2 separate regions of the Homo sapiens genome follow, and region 1 is linked to region 2. Evidence: promoter capture Hi-C in 16 types of primary human blood cells and fetal thymus (Javierre and others, 2016). All regions are on one chromosome and are shown on one strand. Each heading gives the region's core, a stretch centred on a gene start or on the middle of the fragment in contact. The rest is flanking DNA. Distances are from core to core; before and after follow the strand shown.

The links. Contacts are between HindIII fragments. The CHiCAGO score rates a contact against its expected background, and 5 or more counts as called.
Region 1: a contact is called between the fragment with the promoter of KRT222 here and the fragment with the promoter of KRTAP17-1 in region 2, in 5 of 17 cell types (M1 macrophages, M2 macrophages, M0 macrophages and 2 more). The highest score is 8.1, in M1 macrophages.

The regions. Positions count from the first base shown.
Region 1 is chr17:40,662,732-40,667,817 of GRCh38, reverse strand. KRT222 (keratin 222) reads left to right here and starts at 2,641. Exons shown (of 6, transcript NM_152349.3): 1 at 2,641-2,814. The coding sequence starts at 2,719. The HindIII fragment of the contact is 3,418 bases long and covers 38-3,455 here.
Region 2 is chr17:41,312,676-41,318,295 of GRCh38, reverse strand. It overlaps KRTAP17-1 (keratin associated protein 17-1), which reads left to right and starts at 2,586. Exons shown (of 1, transcript NM_031964.2): 1 at 2,586-3,384. The coding sequence starts at 2,646. The coding sequence ends at 2,963. The HindIII fragment of the contact is 4,540 bases long and covers 1-3,658 here.

The DNA of each region.
Region 1 (5,086 bases), core at 1,392-3,891, 650 kb after region 2:
AGTATTTTGGCATTTGTGAGATGTGTTATAACAAGCTTTCTCCTTTTAATAAAGTCAACATTTTTAAATTATTTACTTTTCTAATAACTATAATGGATTTATGACAATCTCCATCATAATCTCAGTCCATGCACCAAGAATTGTAGGGACCCCACAATTTTATATATGCCATAGCCTTTAATGAGGTATTGTTACTGTTTTATTTAAATAAAGGGTAGTATTTTTGTAAAGGAAAGTAATAATATTTTTTCCTTGAAAAATAAAATTTGAGATCTAGAAATAGTTTACTGCATTACTCACATGCCTGTAAAATACCTTTCTAAATCCTATCCCCTCTGTCTGTCTCAATAAATAAATATTTATTATTATGTCTCAAATTATTGACACAGGGTCCCATTCTGTTGCCCAGGCTGGAGTGCAGTGGTGTGATCTGGCTTACTGCAGCCTCAATCTTCCCAGGCTCAAGTGATCCTCCCACCTCAGCCTCCCAAGTAGGTGGGACTACAGGCTTGCACCACTACTCCTGGCTAATTTTTTAATTTTTTTTTTTTGTAGAGTCTGGGTCTCTCTATGTTGCCCAGGCTTGTCTTGAACTCCTGAGCTCAAGCCATCCTCCCGCCTCAGCCTCCCAAAGTGCTGGGATTACAGGGGTGAGCCACTGTGCCCAGCTATTGAGCACTTTAAATGTGGCTGTTCCAAGCTGAGATGCGATGTAAGTATAAAATACACTTGGATTTCAAAGACAGTATCAAGAATAATGTAAAAGATCTCATTAACATTTTATATGGGTTGCTGCATTTTGGATATATCAAGTTAAATAAAATATAGTCGTAAAATTAATTTCACTTCTTTTTGTTTCAATCTTTTGATATGGCTACTAGAAAGTTTGGAAGGACATCTGTGGTTTGCATTTGTGGTTTGTGTTATATTTCCACTGGACAGTGCTGCTTTATTTAGGGTGCATAAGAAATGCTGGCAGACCTATTTAAAATGCAGATTGCCAGGACTGACCCTCCAGGGAATCTAGTTCAGCTCTCTGTGTTTCAGGCGGATATTAGCAGGAGCTACCTAAAGTAGCAGGAAGCATTTAATTCATTGCTCCCTGAATTTAATTTAGGAATTTAATTCATTGCTTTCTTCTCTCTCCTCCACTCCCAAGCCTAATTCTCTTCATATTTCTCAGTCCCAGTTACCAAGAAAGAGAATCAGTTTGGCCTAGATAATCATTAATGACTCTCTTTAGTCAGAGCTTTCTGTCTCAGCCTACTCCAAAGGTCTCTGACCAATCTATAGATAATCAAGTTGTGACTGATGGGGAAGGTGCAGGAGGTAGGGAGGGGTGGGTCAGAAATAACCTGGAACCTCTCCTCTCACCAGGAGCTGTGGGTAGGACAGCTTTGTTTGGAGAGGGCTGTGAGAATGCCCAGCATAGACTGGCCTGGCCAGATGTGAGTTAATTCAGAAATTAAAAGAGCAGGACATGCATGCAAAGGCCCTGTAAGGGCTAGAACCCAGGTCTGATTATCTCCTGAACTGTGCTCCAGATACAATTCAGCCAAAGCCACTCCACAAATAACAATAATGATAGATCCACTCTCACGACATATTTCTGTCACATCTAGCAACCAGCTGGCAAGATTAAACCAGGAATTTAGAAGGGGAGAGAGAGAACGCAGAGGCAGATATGCAGGGGTAATACATGGAACACAAGCAAGTTGTCAAAGAGCCAGTCCCAGTGATGTCATACATCACTGAGCAACCTTGGGCAAGATGCCTCAACCTCTCTGGCCTCAGTCTTTTCATCTTTACAGGTTAGAAAATGTCAGGGATTGCAAGGATTGGATGGAATGATACGCCAAATACACCCTCCGAAGGGCTCAAGTGATTGCAACGATTGGATGGAATGGTACACTGACTACACCCTCCAAAGGACTCAAGGGTTCTTTTGGTGAATACACCAAAAGGTCTATTTCTTCATCCTTGTTAAAACTTTGGAAATGTTAACTCACAACTCTCATAGTCTACCAGCACTTATCTGCAACATTTTGAGAAAACTAAATATAATTTTCTTTTTTTTTTTTTTTTTTTTTTTTGGAGATGGAGTCTCACTCTGTCACCCAGGCTGGAGTGCAGTGGCTCAATCTCGGCTCACTGCAACCTCCACCTCCTGGGTTCAAGCAATTCTCCTGCCTCAGCCTCCCGAGTAGCTGGGATTACAGGCACCCACCACCACGCCCAGCTAATTTTTGTATTTTTAGTAAAGACAGGGTTTCATCATGTTGGCCAGGCTGATCTCGAACTCCCGACCTCAGGTGATCCACCCACCTCAACCTCCTAAAGTGCTGGGATTACAGGCATGAGCCACCATGCCCGGCAATTTTCTTATGTTATGCCCCATTTCCTTTTCACAAAAATGAACTCCCCCTCCCCTCAAAGTGCTCAATTTTTACAGGGAACCAGTACAGGTTTTTGAAATTTTCCTTTCCTTCATGAAGAATCTGACATTTCTACTATACCAATAACAATAGGAGCAAAGAGTTTACCCTGTATTTGCATAATTAGTTAGAAAGATGAGAATTTCCGTGGCCTCCGAAAAAGGAGCTCTGCATCTTTAAAACTCTGCGAGGCTCCCTGCCTTCCGCGCAGACCGAGCAGACTGCCGCAGCGACTCATCCTATCGATAAGGTTCAGTTAGCCAAGGTGGAGGATGGGAAAAGAATGGAACTGTCCCAGCTACTCAATGAGATCAGGGCAAACTATGAAAAGATCCTCACCAGAAATCAGATAGAGACGGTGCTCTCAACAAGGATCCAGGTAATGATTTCATACAGACAGGCACCTTCCAGAATAAGGAGACAGTCCATGTCTACCCAATTCCTGTCCCGGCCTCTCTGAGGTACAGTATTTCCTTTTCGATGCAGCATCTATTGGGGAAGGAATTTAGCTTCTACTGCAGTGTGACTGGGACTACAGGGGGAAATACTGTGATTATATTGTTAAATTGCCATTAAGTAAGTGTTGATTGATGCATTTGATTTTTATATAAATTGTGAGGTTCCTATCATTAACATGGGGTCAACATACCATAAAATGGTGCACTCTAACCTCTTACAATCTTCAGGAAGGAACCATTCCAAATACCCTTCAAAGATATTATTGGAGTTATTTACAGAGATAATTTAAATAACATCTTTAAAATGAAAAATCTTTAAGTAAGATTTATTAGCATGTACACTTTCTAGAGATATTTCTAAAAGGTTTCTATCATCTTTTTAACGAGTTCCATTTTATACCAGATTGTTATAAATAGAAATCATCTGAGTGTGTGAACATGGCATTCAGAAACAATGATATAAATTATGACCATTGAAATTCCCCAAATTGGTAACGATTCTCCACTAAGATTTTTGCTTCTGTACTATAAGATGAGAAACATTTCTTTCCATTACAAAGCTTGTAATATTTAAGTATTTAAAAAAGAGAAAGAGAGCCTACTTAGATAAGGACTAAATCCTAATTTCATAGACTTAGTTTTAAAGTAACAATCACCTTCAGCAAGTAATTAAGGTCTCAAGTCTTTAAACAAATTTACAAACAAATATTTTAGAAACAAAGATTAAGAAATTTAGGGGATTTTTTAGTTTACCTATCATATATGGGTTCAAGTTATCTTCCAAACCCTGAAATACAGCAAAAAGTTTACTTAAGAATATCACCCAAAATTTTAAAAAAAAAAATTGGTAGAAAAATGTCAGGCCTTTATTCCATTAGCCACTCATTTTTAGTTCCATTGTAAATTTCACCTCTAGATAACATTTTCAGCCTTCATAAAGAATGATCAACATCTTAGATTAAGCAAAGTCACTGGTACAGGTAAGCATTGGGATAGTTCATTCACCTTTACAAACAGAAGAAAAAAATCAATAGATGACAACTTCTAAAAATCATAAACAAAACACTTAACTTTGCAGTAGTAGAAATATGAGTTTAGTTTACAAGTCACAGGGCCAAAATGAGTAAATTCAAATGAAAAAGCAAGACTACGGTGAGTTTTGTTTAAAGTGTCTTTTAATTTGAAACTACTTTAGAGGATTTTCTTCCAAATAACTCAGAAAGTCAGCTGAAATAAATTCAAGACAGCCTGATTAGTTATTTTTTTAAATTTCTAAATAAGCTATTTTAGTTACAGATTGTTGTATAACACCCCAAAACTCATCTGGGACCTCAATCGTCTTGGGGCATGACTGGGCTCACTTATGTGTCTGGCACTTTGGCAGGGCATTGCCGAAAGGCTGGCTCTGCTGGGACTTTCTCTCTCACTTCACGTAGCCTCAGGGTCTCTCTCCATCTGGCCTTTCTACAGGATCTCTCCAGCAGGGTATCCAGACTTCTTGCATATTGGCCCAAGGCTCCCAAAAGCATAGAAGTGGAAGCTATCAGGCTTCCTAAGACTTAGGTCTAGAAGTGGCACAGCATTCCTTCTGCCTCATTCTACTGGTTAAAGCAAGACCCAGGTCAGCCCAGAGTCAATGTAGAAGGGGATCACCCTAGGACTCATCTTGGGAGATAGACTTCTTTAGGGGCCATCTTGGGACTGTAGTTACCGAACAAGCTTAGCTGCCAGTTCCATATTTGAAAGCCACAAGACCAGCAGATACCAGCATTTTTCTGTTTTCTTCTCTCCAAAATTCCTTACTTTACCTTCTGTAGTTGCTCTGGTAGGTGTTGCTTGCTGCCTGACTTTGCCAAGTTAACACTAAGAACAGATTTTCAACAAACCAAAAGAAATGTACGAATTTTGTTCTCCAATACCTTGCCCTAAACTTTATTCATAAACTTTCATTTACTTCAACGTTTTTTTAAAAAAATCTAATGTATGATAAAATTAAATTTTTAAATGTTAAAATATATTTTTATAAGAAAATTAAAAGTTATAAATTTTGCTTCAAAATGCTACAATCAATTCTATACATTGTTCTCACTGTTCCTGGGGCCAAATGTTAAAAATTCTGTCAACAGATACTTTCTTTTCATTTCAACATCAACATAAAAACATTTAAAGCTAAATATAAAATATTCTACTTTT
Region 2 (5,620 bases), core at 1,337-3,836:
TGGAAAGACCAACAGTGAAATAAATTGCAGAAGAAAAATAACACCACCATGAGGACTTCAAGTCCTCATCATGACATGTACATTTACACAATTGAAATCATAGTGTATAATTTGAGTTGCACACTGAATGTTGTACTTAATCTGAGTAAATGCTCATGAGTATATGAATTGTTAAATATAAAAGTATGATAATTTATATTTTCAAGTTGTTCAAACAACCAAGTGTTCAATATGTATACATTTATATTTACTCATTTAATCAAAACAGCTCTACGACACTGCTACTATTATTATCCTAATTTCTGTTTTATAGATGAAGAAATTCAGGTACACAGGGGTTAAGTAATTATGGGAGCAGCGAGGGGGTGGGTGAGAGGCAGGAGAACTGAATGGTGAGACATTGGAAGATGAGGAAGACTTTCTACTCTTTTGTACCTTTTATCCTGGGAATGCTTGACCTCTTATTAAAATAAATAAATATGTAAAAGGATGTGTCGGCCGGGTGCAGTGGCTCACGCCTGTAATCCCAGCACTTCGGGAGGCCGAGGCGGGCAGATCACTTGAGGTCAGGAGATCCAGACCAGCCTGTGCGACATGGCGAAACCCTGTCTCTACTAAAAATACAGCAATTAGCTGGGCTTGTTGGTGCGTGCCTGTAATCCCAGGTACTTGGGAGGCTAAGTCAGGAGCATCGTTTGAGCCCAGGAGGCGGAAGTTGCCATGAGCCAAGATCAAGCTACTGCGCTCCAGCCTGGGCAGCAGAGTGAGACTCCATCTCAAAAAAACAAACAAACAAACAAAAAAGGACACGTCTGCCATAGACATTGCTGTATTATACTCACTCAGAGGTGCCCATCTGTGGATGTGGTATGGTGGAAGAAACAGTGGACCAGGAGGGAGAACATCTGGGCCATGGGTCCAATCTACCACGGATGTGTCATCTCTGGGCCTTGGTATCATCTTCTGTAAAACACAAGTGCTTGGCAGTGATGGTCATGATAGGATTAGATTATATCAGTGTTTCCTAATGTAACCCAAGTTACCTGAGAAAGTTTAAAATATATAGCTTCTCAAGCTCTCATAAGCACACATTCTGATTTATCATAAGGACTGGAATACAGTTTGGGAATCTGTATTTTTCAAAAGGCCCCCTTTTAGGCAATTCTGATATAAAACCCTGGACCAGATGATGTTTCAGGGGTTCCTCCCAGCTCTAAAATTCCATATCCTGTGAAGTATTGAGTATCATATCAGATCCAAGTAACTCATTCATCATTTACCCTCCCGACTCCCACCCTGTCCTTAGTTCTTCTAGCCCTTCTTAGAGGCTGTCTTACTTCTAGCCCATCTTACAAAGAAAGGGAAATGAAAAGGGAAGGACTAGATCCCTTGATCCAGATCCTTACTCCCATCCCTCCTTCCATTCCCACCCCACCCCTATCTTCTGTCCTCTACCCCTACTAGATGTTGTATTCCAGCTCCAGGGCTGCCATGGGCACTCCAAGAGGAGAACAAGGTACCAAAGTCCAAGAAAGAGACAGAAATTTTGACCCATCTCAAAATTTACACATGGACCTGAACCATCTGTAGATTTTAGACTCCTTGCAAAGGCATTTTATTCCTTGGGATGACACTCTGGGTATTTTGTATTCTAATTTCTCCTTCTGCCAGATGGTCTATAAGGTTCGAACTCTTAAAAAAAGTGCGTTACATTCCCATTTTAATGTAGCATTTTGGATATTTACTGATCTCCTTCCTGCTTTCTTCTTTCTTTTCTTCTTTCCTTTCTTCCTCCCCTTCTCCTCTTCTTCCTCCTCCTGCATCTCTTCCTTCCCCGGTCAAGGAAAGGCCTGGGGCTGGAGTGGGGGTGGGTAGAGGGTTCTGATCTCAGTTCTTCCCACCTATTTAGAGAGAAGTGCGAATATTCAGCTCACCTTGCCGCCGAGACAGACCATGCCTTACCAGCTTCTTGCAGCTTTACGATGAGTCTCTCTCGGTTTCACAGGGCAGTTATTACTCATGACTGATGCTCACCGGCCAAGCCTAAACGTGTGGCACACTCCCCATACCACACACAGACACAAACATTTGCCTGGCTCACATGAACCGGGATGAGGATGCCATTTCCACCTGGGAGGAGCCACGTGACCAGGCGTTCTCAGTAGCCTCCACTGGTGTCAGGGGGAACAGAGCATTCGGCTGTTGCCGGTCTGCCTTTCCAGGACTAGCATCCATGGAAGATGGGGTCCATCGCCAACCTGCGAAGATGTGGAAGGCAAGCCCCTCATTCCAGAGCCAGAAGCTGTGGCCGGCTTCCCCTTCCCATCTCCAACCTGGGCTAATGACAGCTGGCAGATGCTTGGCCATGATGACAGGTCTTTTCGAAGATGTATTTTTACCCTCTGGATAAACAGCAGTTGGCAGGAGTGGGGCGTTTTTATGAGTTGAGGTACTCAGGACTGGAAAATAAACAGCCAGTTAATGAGCCGGTCTTATGGAAACTTGCATAAATAATAACAAAGAAAACATCCCGTCCCTCATGCCTGGGTGAGGGGATATAAAAGCTGCCATCCAGATGGCTGGCCACCGTCAGTCGTGGGGAACTCCGGCTGCGTTACCGACCTGCGAGCTGACGGGCCCGGACCATGGGGTGCTGCCCGGGGGACTGCTTCACCTGCTGCACCCAGGAGCAAAACTGCTGTGAAGAGTGCTGCTGTCAGCCGGGCTGCTGTGGCTGCTGCGGCTCCTGCTGTGGCTGTGGGGGCTCTGGCTGCGGGGGCTCTGGCTGCGGGGGCAGCTGCTGCGGATCGTCTTGCTGTGGATCTGGCTGCGGAGGCTGTGGAGGCTGCGGAGGCTGCGGGGGTGGCTGCTGTGGATCCAGTTGCTGTGGGTCCAGTTGCTGCGGCTCCGGGTGCTGTGGGCCTGTGTGCTGCCAGCCCACACCTATATGCGACACAAAATGAAGACCTTTCCCTCCACCACTGATGCAGTCCCACCGAAAGCCTCCATCTGCTCCAGGGGGACAGCCCCTCGTGTCCAGAACCTTCCATACCCCCAAGACAGTGTCTTGTCTTTCTGTGATTTGTAGAGGAGGGCTTGTTCTCCAACACCTTCTCTGGTATTTCAAGGCACCGAGAACAAGAGCCATACTCTGATGAAACATTAAAACTCGGTCACAACTAAGTGATCCCAAGCTCAAGGGTGAATCCCCAATACTTTACTTATTCACATGAAGTTCAATGTCTTGTACTATAAGACATCCTCTTCTTCAAGGTGTCTTTGGGACTGATCCTCCGCCCTGGCTTTCTGCAGCTTTGAGATGCAAAAAAGGTCCATCTTCTTTGTGAGCCTCTTAATAAATTTGAGCATGCTGGCATAACCTAATTAGTTCTCTTGCCTCTTCCTTGACCTCCCTGCTGAGGACTGGGTTAGAAAAATTCACTCTGGCATCTGCCTTAGGGTTTTTGAATTGTGGTTTTTGGATCACCTGCGTCGGAATCACCTGGGAGCTTGTTAAAACTGGAGACTCTGAGGCCCTCCCTAAGACATACAGAATCAGAATCCACCAAAGTGTGGCCTGGGAATCTGTGTTTTTAACAAGAACCTTAGATAATTCTTATGCACTGAAGTTTGAGAACCATAGATCTAGACGGAAGCTTCCGTGTGCTGCATGAGATTCACTTGAAAAGCTTTTAAAAATATAGATCATTGGGTTTTATCACTGGAGATTTTACCCGTTAGCTCTAGGGCCTAGAGTCCCTAGGGACCTGCATTTTTAAAAGCTCCTGGGTGAATGCTGATGCTGGCCACATTTAATGGTGATTGAGGGGCATGGCTTTCTTCTGCACTACAGCTCTCCTAGGATGGTTCTGCAGGAGGGCTTCAGGCTTGATCAGAACTTTCTGGCAAAGTCGGAAAGGAGGCTTTGGTAAAACAAGATTGGTTCTGAATGGAAAGGATTTCTAATGGCAAAGCTAGTGAATTCACAGTTTCTGAGGATGTTCTGCGCAGTACAGTTCCTTCTTCCAGCCTCATGCTTGGTCCAGTCTCACTTTTCTGTGCTAGGTTGTCTTACCTGGAACCAGCTACGTTTCTTCTGCCTGAGTTCTAAGGAGGAGGGAGTGAGTATACCTCTGCTAGGTAGGGCCCAGCCAAGGTGTGTGGGTCCACCTGGGAGGTTAAAACTCAAAAGACAGTTGATCAACCTTTTGTTGAAAGTGACCTTAAGCTGTGTGTGTAATAAAACTAATTTTGCTCTTGCCCTGGAAAAATAGTATTTATTTTTATGCCTACAAAGCGATGTTTCATTTGACAAAGAAAAATTTTTTTCTGATTATAAGCATAGCAATGAACTCTAAAAAATGAAAAAATACAGAAACATATAAAGAATATAGCATTCGAAGGCTCACCACTCAGAGTCTATTACTGATAAGCTTTCCAGACTGTTTTCTAAGCATAGTTATGAATAAAACTGGGATTATGTTGCTTTTACCTTTTTCTTTAAAAAATTTTTTTGTTTCATTTTTTATGGTCAACTTTATTGAAATATAATTTACATATAATAAAAAGTTCCCATTTTTAGTGAACAGTATGATGTGATCTGACATTCGTGTATACTTATGTAACCACCACTGCACTCAAGATCTTTATGGAACTTTCCATCACCCCCAAAATTCCCAGTTTGTCTTTGCAGTCAGTTCTTCCCCCACCCCCAGACCCTGGCAACCATCAACCTGTTCTTTATGTTACTACAGATTTCACCATGTCTAGAATTTCATATAAAAGAAATCATGCAGTATGCACTATTTTTCATTTTGCCTATCATGTTTTGTATCTGTTCATTGTTGCAGGTATCAATAATTCATTTTTTTTTCTACTGAATGGCATCCCATTATACAGATAAACTACATTAAAAATATATTCACCTACTTATGGGCATTTGGATTCTTTTGTGTTTCTGGCTATTATGAATGAAGCTGCTATGAGCATTCTCGTACAATTTTTTTTTTTTGGTGAACATATGCTTTGTTTTGGATAAATACTTAGCAATTGGATGGCTGTTTAAATGGTAAGTGAATGCTTAACCTTATGTGAAACTGCCGAGTTGTTTTGCAAAGTGGCCACAGCATTTTGTATTCCAACCAGCAATGTCTGAGAGTTCCAGTGTCTATGTCCTTGGTAACACTTAATATTATCAGTCTTTTTATTTCTAGCCATTCCAGCAGGTGTATAGTGGTAGCTCATTGTGTTTTCATTTTTTTCTTTCATTTATGAACCCAGCAGTATTATTAATGTCTTCTTTTGGAGAGAACCTGAGATTTGACTCTGCCTTGGTTCAGTTTCGGACTCTACTATTTGAGCCATTTTCACTCTGGCTGGAACTGGCTTCCTAGGAACTGGCTCTTTAACCCCTAAGACAAAGCCACCGCCAAAGCAGGAGCTGCCAATGGGACACACTTGTCCAGAGACCAGTGAATCTGCACTGAGTAGTTGTGATTCAGAGCAGCTGATTATTCTATTGCGCACGGTCATGCCTCCTGGATGCATGTGTGGCGGTAGTGATTTTTGAATTACTGATACAGGCTTGCCCTTCTTAGCTATCCACAGAGGTTCTCATTTA